4 separate regions of the Homo sapiens genome follow, and all the other regions are linked to region 4. Evidence: promoter capture Hi-C in 16 types of primary human blood cells and fetal thymus (Javierre and others, 2016). All regions are on one chromosome and are shown on one strand. The core of a region is centred on a gene start or on the middle of the fragment in contact, and the rest is flanking DNA. Distances in the headings are between cores, read along the strand shown.

Region 1 (2,893 bases), core at 234-2,733, 260 kb after region 4:
TTTAGGGTCCCTTGAGATTCTATATGAATTTTAGAACAGATTTTTTTTTTTTCCTGCAGAAATAGAAAAAAGTTACTGGGATTTTGATAGGAATTGCAATGAGTCTGCAAATTGCAATGAGTCTGCAAATTGTTTGGGGCAGTATAGATATCTTAACAATATAAAGATAGTATGAAGTTCTGGCAAGGATGCAGAACAACTGGAACTCTCATACATTTCTAAAGGAAATACAAATGGTACAGCCACACTGGTTTGACAGTTTCTTACAAAGTTAAACACAAACTTACCAAATGGCCCTGTAATCCCACTTCTGTGTATTTACCCTGGAGACATAAAAGCTTATGTTCACACAAAAATCTATACTCAGAAGTTTATAGTCGCTCTATTTATAATCATCAAACATTGAAAACACCCAAATGTTTTTTTTTCTTTCTCTTTGTCTTTTTTTGAGACAAGGTCTCACTATGTCACTCAGGCTGGAATATAGTGGCGAAATCACTGCTCACCACAGCTTTGACCTCCAGGGCTCAGGTAATCCTCCCATCTTAGCCTCCCAAGTAGCTGGGACTACAGGCGCACACCATGATGTCTGGCTAATTTTTAGTATTTTTTGTAGATACAAAGTTTTGCCATGTTGCCCAACCTGGTCTCAAGTGATGTGCCCACCTCAGCCTCCCTAAGTGCTGGGATTACAGAATAAGCCACCACACCCAGCCCCAAACATATTTCAAAGAGTGACTGGCAAAACAAATAATGATGCATCAATACGATGGAATACTATTCAGTAATAAAAAAGGAATGAAATATTAATACATGCAAAAACTTGACAGAATCTCAAGGGCATCATGCTAAGTGCAAGCAGCTAGCATCAACAGGTTACATACTGAATGATTACATTTCAGTAACAATGTAGAAAACACAAAACTCCATAGTATGGAGAACAGATCAGTGGTCCCAAAAGATTAGTGGTAAAGGGAAGATGTGACTACAAAGTGATACCACAGGGAATTTTTTCAGGTGTTGAAACTGGTCTGTATCCTGACTGTGATGGTGGGTTACATCAATCTATGCATGTGTGTACCTGTATGACAAGTACACAAAAAATAGACAACTTTACTTTATATTCTATAAAAAATAAAAATTTTTAAATGATATTGTAAAGGAAAAAACACACCCAAGCGCAATGCCTTCACACCTGTAATCCCAGCACTTCAAGAGGCCGAGGCGGGCGGATCACTTGAGGTCAGGAGTTCGAGACCAGCCTGGCCAACCTGGTGAAACCCTGTCTCTACTAAAAATACAAAAATAACTGGGCACGGTGGCAGGCACCTGTAATCCCAGCTACTCAGGAGGCTGAGGCAGAAGAATCACTGGAACCAGGGAGGTGGAGGTTGCAGTGAGCCGAGATCGCGCCATTGCACTCTAGCCTGGGTGACGGAGTGAGACTCTGTCTCAAAACACAAACAAACAAAAAAAGAATAAACATGTACACATGGAGCAATAGCCTATTAACTATGCTATTAACTAAGGAGGGGGTAGTTCATAACACATCACTATGATCCAAATTCTATAAAAATATATTAAACAATAGAAGAGGCCAGGCATGGTAGCTCATGCCTGTAATCCCAGCACTTTGGGAGGCCGAGGCGGGCGGATTGCCTGAGCTCAGGAGTTTGAGAGCAGCCTGGGTAACACAGTGAAACCCCTGTATTTTGTCTCTACTAAAATACAAAAAATTAGCCGGGCATGGCGGCATGAACCTGTAGTCCCAGCTGCTCGGAAGGCTGAGGCAGGAGACTCACTTAAACCCAGAAGGCAGAGGTTGCAGTGAGCTGAGATTGCACCGCTGCTCTCCAGCCTGGGCAACAGAGCGAGACTCTGTCTCCAAAAAAAAATAATACTAATAGAAGAAAGTAAAAAGAAATGCCAAAATGTTAACAATGCCCATCTCTAGGTAATGAAATTATACGTACTTACTTTTTCCTTAGTCTGTCTAACATCCTATAAGGTATGTCCCTTTTAAAACTGAAAATTTCCTTTTTTTTTTTTTTTTTTTTTTTTTGAGACAGGGTCTCACTCTGTTGCCCAGGCTGGAGTGGTGCAATGGCGCAATCTCAACTCACTGCAACCTCTGCCTCCCAGGCTCAAGCAATCCTCCCGCCTCAGCCTCCCAAGTAGCTGAGACTACAGGTGTGTGACAGCACGCCCGGCTAATTTCTGTATTTTTTGTAGAGACAGGGTTTTGCCATGTTGCCCAGGATGGCAAAATTGAAAATTTCAAAGGAAAGAAATTTTAATTAGTTACCAATTCTAATACTTTAAGAAATAATGTACAACCCTAAAAAACTTGCAAAAATGTTACAAGAAATACATTATCTTTTCAAACTGACAATACACTGTAAAACTCCATTTCCACTGACATCTCATCAGACTTCAACGCTATTTTAAAATAGCCTATTAAAAGGTACTATATGCAAAGATCATTCAAAGTCAATAAAGAAGATACAAGCCTGTATCAGAACATCTCCTGTAACCCAAAAATATATACACCTACTATGTACCCACAAGAATTTTTAAAATTTTTTAAAAAGAAGGTACAAAATTAATGTAAGGTTCTCACAAAGCTTTTGATATAATTAACCAAAAATGAAATCATTTAATAAGAGAAAAAATGTTAGTAACACTATAGTATTAAAAGCCAAAATGAGTATTCCTATGAAGCAGAACTCACTGCAAAACAAGTTTGGGAAAGGTCAGTGACTGCACCACAAAGAAAGGGGTAACACATGATAAAATACAACATAAAACACAATGCAGGGACAGTGTTGTTTCAGGCAAGAGAACCAACATCTACTTAAGCACAGAAGAGGTTCTCCAAAAGATACAAAATTAC
Region 2 (3,050 bases), core at 86-2,585, 360 kb after region 4:
ACAGAAATTTAAAATTGCTTATAATTGTATTCCCCAGCAATAAGCATCATTACTATTTTGGTGGCTGTCTTTGCAGTTTTTTCTCTTGAACATATGTTTATATATAGGTTTCATTACAATTTAAAAATCTAGCTGATAGTGTAGCCCTCAATCTCACTTCAGAGAAACCCACCTCACAAGTTGGGAAACACTGACACTGATGCCCCCTTAGAAAACCCAGGATGTAGACATTTATTTGCCGGGAAACTTTGGTATCCCTCTATGGCAGATAGGCTACTGTCAGAATGCTCTTTTTGAAATAAGAAGTTATGTAACACAAAGACATGTTCCTGGTAGTTTATGCAAAGACAGAGGAAAGAGTATGCAAGAATGTCATCCTCAAGGGAAGTGCAGAGAGATTTCTTCAGTCCTCAGCTGAGTATAAGCTGGCCTCCTGGAGTCTGTGAACACAAACGTCCAATGTGAGTGTGCCTGTGCAAGCCCCTGGCTGTTTATACTCCGGAGGGTGTCCCCGTGCGTCATCGGTGGAGTGGACCAAAACTGGTGATCTGTTTGCCCTGTGTGACCTTGCCCAGAACCCTGCTGACTGAGAGAACACATCTGCTGGAAGTCCTCTGGGATTCAAGGTACAGGGGTAAGCATGACCTTGAATGCAGTAGCAATGTGCTTTAGCCAACTAAGCTGGCTCATTTCATTTACCGCTCTATCTCCCATGGTTAAGCATTAAAAATACATGTTGTGGCTGGGCATGGTGGCTCACGCCTGTAATCCCAGCACTTTGGGAGGCTGAGGCTGGCAGATTGCCTGAGGTCAGGAGTTCGAGACCAGCCTGGCCAACATGGTGAAATTCTGTCTCTACTAAAAATACAAAAATTAGCCGGGCATGGTGGTGCACGCCTGTAGTCTTAGCTACTGGGAGGACTGAGGCGGGAGGAACGCTTGAACCCGGGAGGCAGAGGTTGCAGTGAGCTGAGATTGTGCCACTGCCCTCCAGCTTGGGTGACAGAACAAGACTCTGTCTCAAAAAAAAGAAAAAAGAAAGAAAAAGAAAAAAAATATATGTTGGATGTTCAGAAGACTTTGTTTCATTTTAAGGTATAGAATAAGTAACTCAACAGCAATGAATTCATATGTTGTGAACAAACAGGAAACAAATGAGTAATTCCTTTCTTGACGGAATTTCTAGCTCTTGCATCTTTTACTCTGAAGTTCTACTTCTTCCCCGGCTACTCCTGCCTACACCCATCTTCCCTTTCTGAACTGGTAGTACTTGTGTCCAAACCACTCTTACTGTGCTTTGAAAAAAAAAAAAGGAACTGCTCAGCAGTTCCCCTCTCTGTACACTGTCCTCTCACAGAACAAGAAGGTATCTGGTCTACAAGAACTCGAGGCCTCACTGAAACGGAAAGCAAATACAAAGAAACTTTATTTTAAAAACATGTCTTGGTCTCCCAAGAAGAGGGCAATTGGATTGCTCAGCCAGGTACTGTGGGTAGAGAGAATGGGATTTTTAAGGTCTGGGGCCCAAATATTAAAATCTGGGTTTACATTCATTTAAAGCTTGTGTCTGGGATGTACAAAAGCCTTAACATTGACGAGTGTGATTTGCATGCCTGGCTGGATTTGCCTGCCGAGAAACCTTTAGGGGTGGTTAATCGGGTCTGCTGGGGCTTCATCAGGTTCAAGGGGTACATGTACCCCTTGGACTACTGTGAGATGGAAAGGACTTTGGAAACACTTTTTGGCATTACAGAAAGGAAACTCACTCTTTTTTTTTTTTTTTTTTTGAGACAGAGTCTTGCTCTGTCACCCAGGCTGGACTGCAGTGGCGTGATCTCGGCTCACTGCAACCTCTGCCTCCTGGGTTCAAGCAATTCTCCTGCCTCAGCCTCCCAAGTAGCTGGGATTACAGGCACCCGGCACCGCGCCCCAGCTAATTTTTGTATTTTTAGTAGAGACAGGGTTTCACCATGTTGGCCAGACTGGTCTCAACTCCTGACCTCGTGATCTGCCCACCTCAGCCTCCCAAAGTGCTGGGATTACAGGTGTGAGCCAACGTGCCCGGCCAGGAAACTCACTCTTGTTGCTAAGACTGTTGTTAGAATCACAGATGATCAAAGCTGAAAGGAACGAGGTGGACTACTTAGTCCATCCAATCTCCCAAGTTACTGATGAGAAACCTGATATTTGGAGACAGAAGTGAAGGAAATCACCCTTTACGGGACACCTATTTCGTGATAGGGTCTTTATGTACATTATCTCAGTAGATCCTTGCAGCCTGGCTTTGAGAGGTGGAAAATGTGGTAGAGAGGAGTTAAATGTCCTGCCCTACATCACACTGCTAATTGTCTACAAAACTAGGATAGAACCTGGTCAGCACACTTCTTAACTGTTCACACACTTTTATAATATTAGTCGTATTAATGTGTTTAAAATACCATAGACTGGGTGGCTTAAACAACAGAAATTTATATTCCCACAGTTCTGGAGGCTGCAAGTCCAAGACCAAGGTGTCAGCAGGGTTGGCTTCTCCCCACGCCTCCCTCCTTGGCCTTTTCTCTCTGTATGCACATTCCTGGTATCTCCCTTTGTGTGTCCCGATTTCCTCTTCTCATAACAGCCTCATTTGAGCTTAATGACCTCTTTAAAGGCTCTGTCTGCAAATACAGTCACATTCTGAGGTTCAGGGCTTCAACATATGGATTTGGGGGAAGCCCAGTTCAGCACATAACACTAATATTAACATGTGAGATTGCTGAAGCCTATTAAAGACCTAAGAACATTCTAGTCTAGAGCCTTTTTACTAGAAAGGAAGACAGATAATACCCACTGACCATCTTTGTCACAACTACTTTCATGTTTAATCTTCACAATAGTCCAGGGAGGTGAATATTATGCATGATTTGGAAAGCAAGATTCGGAAAGGCTAAGTAACATGTCTAGGGATACTTACCTCATAAGGTGCAGAGTGAGGATTTGAATTCAGATCTGCAATGCCAAAGCCCACACACATTTTCCATTTCTGTGTGCTTCCTGTCTGCTCCTAATTA
Region 3 (3,242 bases), core at 140-2,639, 340 kb after region 4:
CATTTTCAGTTTTCAAAAAGGAAATAAAAGTTATTCTTGCACCCATTACATACTATATATCATACTTCACCAGCATATTGTATAGAAAACATTTGTGATAAGACTAGACCTATATGGATATTATTTTTCATAAGTAGGAATCATAGACTTCGAGACCAACCTGGCCAAGACAGTGAAACCCCATCTCTACCAAAAATACAAAAATTAGCCGGGTGCGGTGGCGAGCACCTGTAATCCCAGCTACTTGGGAGGCTGAGGCAGGAGAATTGCTTGAGCCTGGGAGGTGGAGGTTGCAATGAGCTGAGATCGCACCACTGCACTCTAGCCTGGGTGACACAGCAAGACTCCGTCTCCAAAAAAAAAAAAAAAAGGAAAAACTAAAGATTCCTCTGTCTACATTACTAACTTGTATTAGAGGTGACATCCTTTCTGGGAAGGGGGAATTTCAAACAAAGAATAGGCTGAAATGGTCACAATAACAGAGTGACAGAAAAGTATCACTCAAAAGAACACTGATAGTAATTATCTACAATTTACTGATCACTGTATTGTGAGCTGCAGGTATTATAATTTTTATATAGGGATAAAAAGACTGAAGAAGGCCAAGGTTGAAATGCAATATATTGAGTCCAGTCCTCTTCACTAGATTTATATAACCTATTGTCAACATTTCCTTGCATCTATCTCAAAGGCATCTAAAATTCAATATTCCAAAACTGATATATCTCAGGTCTTCCTCCATTTTTTTCATTAAATGATACTACTAATCTATCCAGCATTGTAAGCTAGAAGCTTATCCTTGACAGTTTGCTTTATTTGCATGCTTCCTCTCCATCCAAACCACCACTAAATTGTCAGTTTTACCTCTAAATATTTTTAAATGTCTGTCCACTTACCATTTCTACCACCAGTAGCAAGCTCATGCAAACCATCAACTCCTGTCTGCATGATTATAATGGTGTACAAACTGCCCTCCCCCCAGTCATTCTTGTCTCCTTCCAATCCATACTCTTCACTGTACCCCGGAGACTCTTTCTAAGATGCAAATATTTCACTCTTTTGTTTAGAATCCTTCATCTCCCTCCCCCAGTTGCTTTTCTAGCTCAAGTCCAATAATCTCTACATGCCCTATCTTATCCAGGCCCACTTACCTGCTCTCCTCTCAATCTGGACTCTATACCCTAGCCACACTAAGCCTCTCATTTCTCTGAATGAACCTGGATTCTGTTTGTCTCAGGGACCTTGTGCCAGGCTGTTTCCTCCAACTTCAGATAATTAAATGCCATCCATTCTTCAGTTCTCAGATATACTTGCTGTATTAGTCCATTCTTGCATTGCTCTAAAGAACTACCTGAGACTGAGTAATTTATAAACAAAAGAGGTTTGACTCACAGTTCCACAGGCTCTACAGGAAGCATGGCTGGGTATGCCTTAGGAAACTTACAATCACGGCAGATTGCAAAGGGGAAGCAGGCAGTTTTACATGGCCAGAGGAGGGAGAGACAGACAGTGGAGGTGCTACACCCTTTTAAAAAACCAGACCTTGTGAGAACTCACTATGACAAGAACAGCAAGAGGGAAGTCCACCCCCATGATCCAGTCACCTCCCACCAGGCCTCTCCTCCAACACTGAAGATTACAATTCAACATGAGATTTGGGCAGGGACACAAATCCAAACCATTACACTCGCTTAAGCAAATTTTCCTTGATCCTGCAGACTAGACTATGTAAGTTCCTTTCACAGTTCCCTCCACTTTTCCTTCACGATATTTATCACTATATATAATTATATATTTGTGTAATTACTTGGTTGTTTATAAAATCTATGAAAGGAGAGACTATTTGGGATTTTTGGTGGCATTTGTCTTGGTACATATATCCCCAGTACTTATAATAGTGCCTGATCCATAGTAGGCAATCAACAAATGTGCATGCTTATTGAATGAATTAATTGATGGAAGGGCAAACAATACCATAAAGCTTAAATTAAGAAGTGATATTAGGCCTGGCGTGGTGACTCATGCCTGTAATCAATCCCAGCACTTTGGGAGGCAGAGGTGGGCGGATCACTTGAGGTCAGGAGTTTGAGACCAGCCTGACCAACGTGGTAAAACCCCGTCTCTATTAAAAAAATACAAAAATTAGCCGAGCATGGTGGCAGGCACCTGTAATCCCAGCTACTTGGGAGGCTGAGGCAGGAGAATTGCTTGAACCTGGGAGGCAGAGGTTGCAATGAGCCAAGATTGCGCCATTGCACTCCAGCCCGGGCAACACAGCGAGACTCTTGTCTCAAAAAAAAAAAAAGACATGAGATAAATGAAAGCAAAAATAATTTATTCAACAAATAATTCTTTTGTGATATTTATACCATGGGTTCTATGATAGGTACTGGGGTATAGAAAATATTAGGAAGTTTCCGTTTCTGAGGGACAGTTAAAGCAAGTTTTACCAAGGAAAGAGCATTTGAGTTCAGTCTTAGGTTTTAACTTAAGGCGAGGAGGAGAAAGACATTCTAAGCATGATGATCAGAATCTGCATCCACATGGAGACAAAACACCAAAGCACATTTTAGAATAAAGGGTATGTGTGGAGAAATAGTAAGGATAGCTATCATTAAGAATGAGGGATTTGGACAGAATCTAGAAGGAAGGTTATACACTGAAAACATCTGTAAGTTGAAAATATTCATGGTTAAAAAACACTATAAAAAGGGGAGAAGCAAGAATTTATATGACGTGTAGAAACCAGGGAAAAGACCCGGAGTTGTACAGTAAAATGTTCATGTTGGAAAACAATAAAAAAAAAGTGTGGGGTCAGTTAACACTGAAACCCAAGCAGCAACATCATTACTCACATATGTTGAACACTTAACTCTGCCAGATATAGTAGTAAATGTTTTACATTTACAAAGTATTTGAGCACTTGGGTATTCCTTTTTTTTTTTTTTTTTTGAGACAGTCTCACTCTGTCGCCCAGGCGGGAGTGCAGTGGCGCGATCTTGGCTCACTGCAAGCCCCACCTCCCAGGTTCACGCCATTCTCCTGCCTCAGCCTCCAGAGTAGCTGGGACTACAGGCACCCGCCACCACCCCCGGCTAATTTTTTTGTATTTTTAGTAGAGACTGGGTTTCACCTTGTTAGCCAGGATGGTCTTGATCTCCTGACCTCGTGATCCGCCCACCTCGGCCTCCCAAAGTTCTGGGATTACAGGCGTGAGCCACCCACCTGGCCTGCACTTGGGT
Region 4 (3,154 bases), core at 594-3,093:
ATACACACAGAGTACTTACACACTACACTGTTCATTATTACTCTTTTGGGTCCAGCCTAAATCCCACAACCAGATGTGCCAGTGCATGTGCCTTTTAACTCTTTATCTCTCTGGTAAATATTCATTGCTCACAAGAATTAATCTTTGCCTCCTAGGCTGGGCGCGGTGGCTCATGCCTGTAATCCCAGCACTTTGGGAGGCCGAGGTGGGTGGATCACGACGTCAGGAGATCGAGACCATCCTGGCTAACACGGTGAAACCCCGTCTCTACTAAAAATACAAAAAAAAAAATTAGCTGGTCGTGGTGGCAGGCGCCTTTAGTCCCAGCTACTCGGGAGGCTGAGGCAGGAGAATGGCGTGAACCCGGGAGGTGGAGCTTGCAGTGAGCCGAGATCGCGCCACTGCACTCCAGCCTAGGCGACAGAGCGAGACTCTGTCTCAAAAAAATAAAAAAAATAAATCATTGCCGCCTAGGCCGTGCATGGTGGCTCATGGCTGTAATCCCAGCACTTTGGGAGGCCGAGGCGGGTGGATCACCTGAGGTCAGGAGTTCCAGACCAGCCTGACCAACATGATGAAAGCCGTCTCTACTAAAAACACAAAATTAGCCGGGCATGGTGGTGCATGCCTGTAGTCCCAGCTACTTTGGAGGCTGAAGCAGGAGAATCGCTTGAACCGGGGAAGCGGAGGTTGCAGTGAGCCGAGATGGCACCAGTGCACTCCAGCCAGAGCAACAAGAGGGAGACTCCATCCCCCCAAAAAAACAACTTTGCTGCCTCATTTTAGCTCCTCTGCTTACCAACAGTGTGACCTTAAATAAATTACTTAACCAGACCCGGGCGCGGTGGCTCAGGCCTGTAATCCCAGCACTTTGGGAGGCTGAGGCAGGCGAATCATCTGAGGTCAGGAGTTCCAGACCAGCTAGGCCAACATGGTGAAACCTCGACTCTACTAAAAATACAAAATTAGCCGGGCGTGGTGGCGCATGCCTGTAATCCCAGCTACCCTGGAGGCTGAGGCAGGAGAATCACTTGAACCCGGGAGGCGGAGGTTGCAGCGAGCCGAGATCGCGCCATTGCACTCCAGCCTGGGCAAAAAGCAAAACTCCGTCTCAATAAATAAATAAATAAATAAATAAATAAATAAATAAATAGATAAAATAAAATTACTTAACCCAACTGTATTTACAGATCTTCACCGCAAAATGGGATTAAAAATTGAATCTACCTTAAGTATCTACTATAAGCATTAAATGACTGAGTACATGTTAAGGGCTTAGAAAAATAACTGACATTGCCATTGTCATTATTACTGAACCTGGGCGGTAAGAAGTTTTGCGCAAAGAAAGTGAGGACCACGCCCACCATGTCAAAGACTAAACGACCCAAAGCCTCAAGGAATCAGCTAGACTGTGTTAGGGAAAAATGAAGGGAGGGATGAGAATCAGTCGCTGCCATCCCTTTTCCTCACAGTTCCCACGATAGCCTAAGGCCCGGTAGGTGCGCCTCTCACCTGAACCGACGACCCCCTCCTGTTTCCATTGCTGCCGCTCAGCCTCAGTGGGGAATCCCCTCAGAATTGCCAGCTCCGGGGTCCACATCACCCCAGACACCGCTGCAGCCAAAACAGGCTCCCACGAGGGCCACACGGGAGTCAACAAAAGAAAGTGAAAACAGGAGAGTCCAAAGGCGCTGAAATCTAGTGGCGACAGTTACCGTAAATACACCTGCGGCCCTAGAATTCCATGTGCGGATACTACCTCAAGGAGGCGGCCATAACAGCAGCGCGGGGCACCCTGGGAAAAACACGCACGCTCTCTGGTCTGGCTTCCGCCTAGGAGAAGAACCCGAGCTTGAGTAAGGAGCCTGTTGGGTGGTTATGCCCCACCCCGGGGCGGGCAATAGGGGGAGTTGAGGGCGCGGTCGCGCTCAGCCCCGCCCCCAGTGGGACCGCTTCCAAGAACTGTGAACGTGGAAGTGAGTGTGCCTCCCACCGAGGGCTAGGGTTCAAATGCAACTCAAAACGGACGTCTTGGCCAAAGCAGTTTGATTAGAAGGGCTAGAGTTGTGATTCTTAAAGCATTTTGGGTTAGAACGCTCTCGACAACCCGATGAAAACCACAGTCCTTCGCGCAGAGTGCAGGTGGGCCCTTGCTCTCAGCCTAAGGGTACCCTCTCAGGGAATCACAGACCCTCTGACGTGGAGTCGGTGAAGCCCAGGTTGGAACCCCGTCAGCATAGCATGGGTCTTTCGGCGAATGAGCGTGTAAGGAAAGGATCTGGTTTTGACACTGCTCTACATGAATCATGGCCGGGTGGGAAATCTGCCCCTGCCGCTGGTGCAGGGAAGTTTTTGGAACACTGTCGGAACGCTGTAGAAGAGTGATCCCAGGGGTGATCACAAAGAAATTGCAAGGAGACAAACCAGCCTCCGCTGGTACCTTATTTGCACTTCTTTGAATCTTCCTAGCAGCACTCCAAAGAAACAGTTAGAGGGCGGGCGCGGTAGCTCACGCCTGTAATCTCAGCACTTTGGGAGGATGAAGCGGATGGATCACCTGAGGTCAGGAGTTCGAGACCAGCCTGGCCAATATGGTGAAACCCGTCTCTACTAAAAATACAAAAATTAGCCGGACGTAGTGGGGCACCCCTGTAAACCCAGCTACTCGGGACGGTGAGGCGGGGGAATTGCTTGAACCCGGGAGGCGGAGGTTTCAGTGAGCTGAGATGGTGCCACTGCACTCCAGCCTGGGCAATAGGAAAGAGGGAGGGAGGGAGGGAAGAAGGAAGGAAGGGAGGGAGGGAGGGAAGGAGGGAAGGAAAACAGGACTATGGCTTTGTCCCATTGGCTTGACACCTGTACTGAGATATGTCATGTAAGAGCCAGGAGAAAACTGCAGGGTAACTCTGACCACAAGAGCAAAAGCTCTCTGAAAAGAGGCTGACCCGGTACCCAGCTCCAAGGAAGAAGCTAAATAAATGTTAATTCACTTTCTTACTCAGTAAAGAGCCACTCCAGAATGTGAAGGGAGAGGAACTCAGCTCAGCTCATTTCAGCCATTGCCATCAGATACCAAAGGAAGCCGGACCTGACTGTGATTGGAGAAGAGCGGATGCCCTAAAATGTCCTCCCACTGAGAAGTAATTAAAAACTG

Evidence for each region. Contacts are between HindIII fragments. The CHiCAGO score rates a contact against its expected background, and 5 or more counts as called.
Region 1: a contact is called between a fragment that was not itself captured here and the fragment with the promoter of TTC27 in region 4, in 2 of 17 cell types (non-activated CD4 T cells and total CD8 T cells). The highest score is 5.8, in non-activated CD4 T cells.
Region 2: the fragment with the promoter of NLRC4 here is called in contact with the fragment with the promoter of TTC27 in region 4 in 1 of 17 cell types (monocytes); the score reaches 5.3 in monocytes.
Region 3: a contact is called between a fragment that was not itself captured here and the fragment with the promoter of TTC27 in region 4, in 3 of 17 cell types (total CD8 T cells, naive CD8 T cells and fetal thymus). The highest score is 5.7, in total CD8 T cells.

Annotation. Positions count from the first base shown.
Region 1 is chr2:32,370,385-32,373,277 of GRCh38, reverse strand. All of the region lies in intron 1 of BIRC6 (baculoviral IAP repeat containing 6), which reads right to left. Among named protein-coding and RNA genes, the nearest start is that of BIRC6, 15 kb to the right of the region's middle. The HindIII fragment of the contact is 2,286 bases long and covers 341-2,626 here.
Region 2 is chr2:32,263,171-32,266,220 of GRCh38, reverse strand. It overlaps NLRC4 (NLR family CARD domain containing 4), which reads left to right and starts at 1,335. Exons shown (of 9, transcript NM_001199138.2): 1 at 1,335-1,483. The HindIII fragment of the contact is 10,627 bases long and covers 1-1,562 here.
Region 3 is chr2:32,282,785-32,286,026 of GRCh38, reverse strand. The region is part of intron 1 of YIPF4 (Yip1 domain family member 4); the gene reads right to left. Among named protein-coding and RNA genes, the nearest start is that of YIPF4, 6.5 kb to the right of the region's middle. The HindIII fragment of the contact is 1,189 bases long and covers 795-1,983 here.
Region 4 is chr2:32,626,739-32,629,892 of GRCh38, reverse strand. TTC27 (tetratricopeptide repeat domain 27) reads right to left here and starts at 1,843. Exons shown (of 20, transcript NM_017735.5): 1 at 1,513-1,843. The coding sequence starts at 1,600. It overlaps LOC124905985 (a long non-coding RNA gene), which reads left to right and starts at 3,115. Exons shown (of 3, transcript XR_007086273.1): 1 at 3,115-3,154. RefSeq lists a silencer at 1,354-1,483 and enhancers at 1,734-1,793, 1,322-1,981, 2,204-2,263, 1,982-2,643. The HindIII fragment of the contact is 6,273 bases long and covers 1-3,154 here.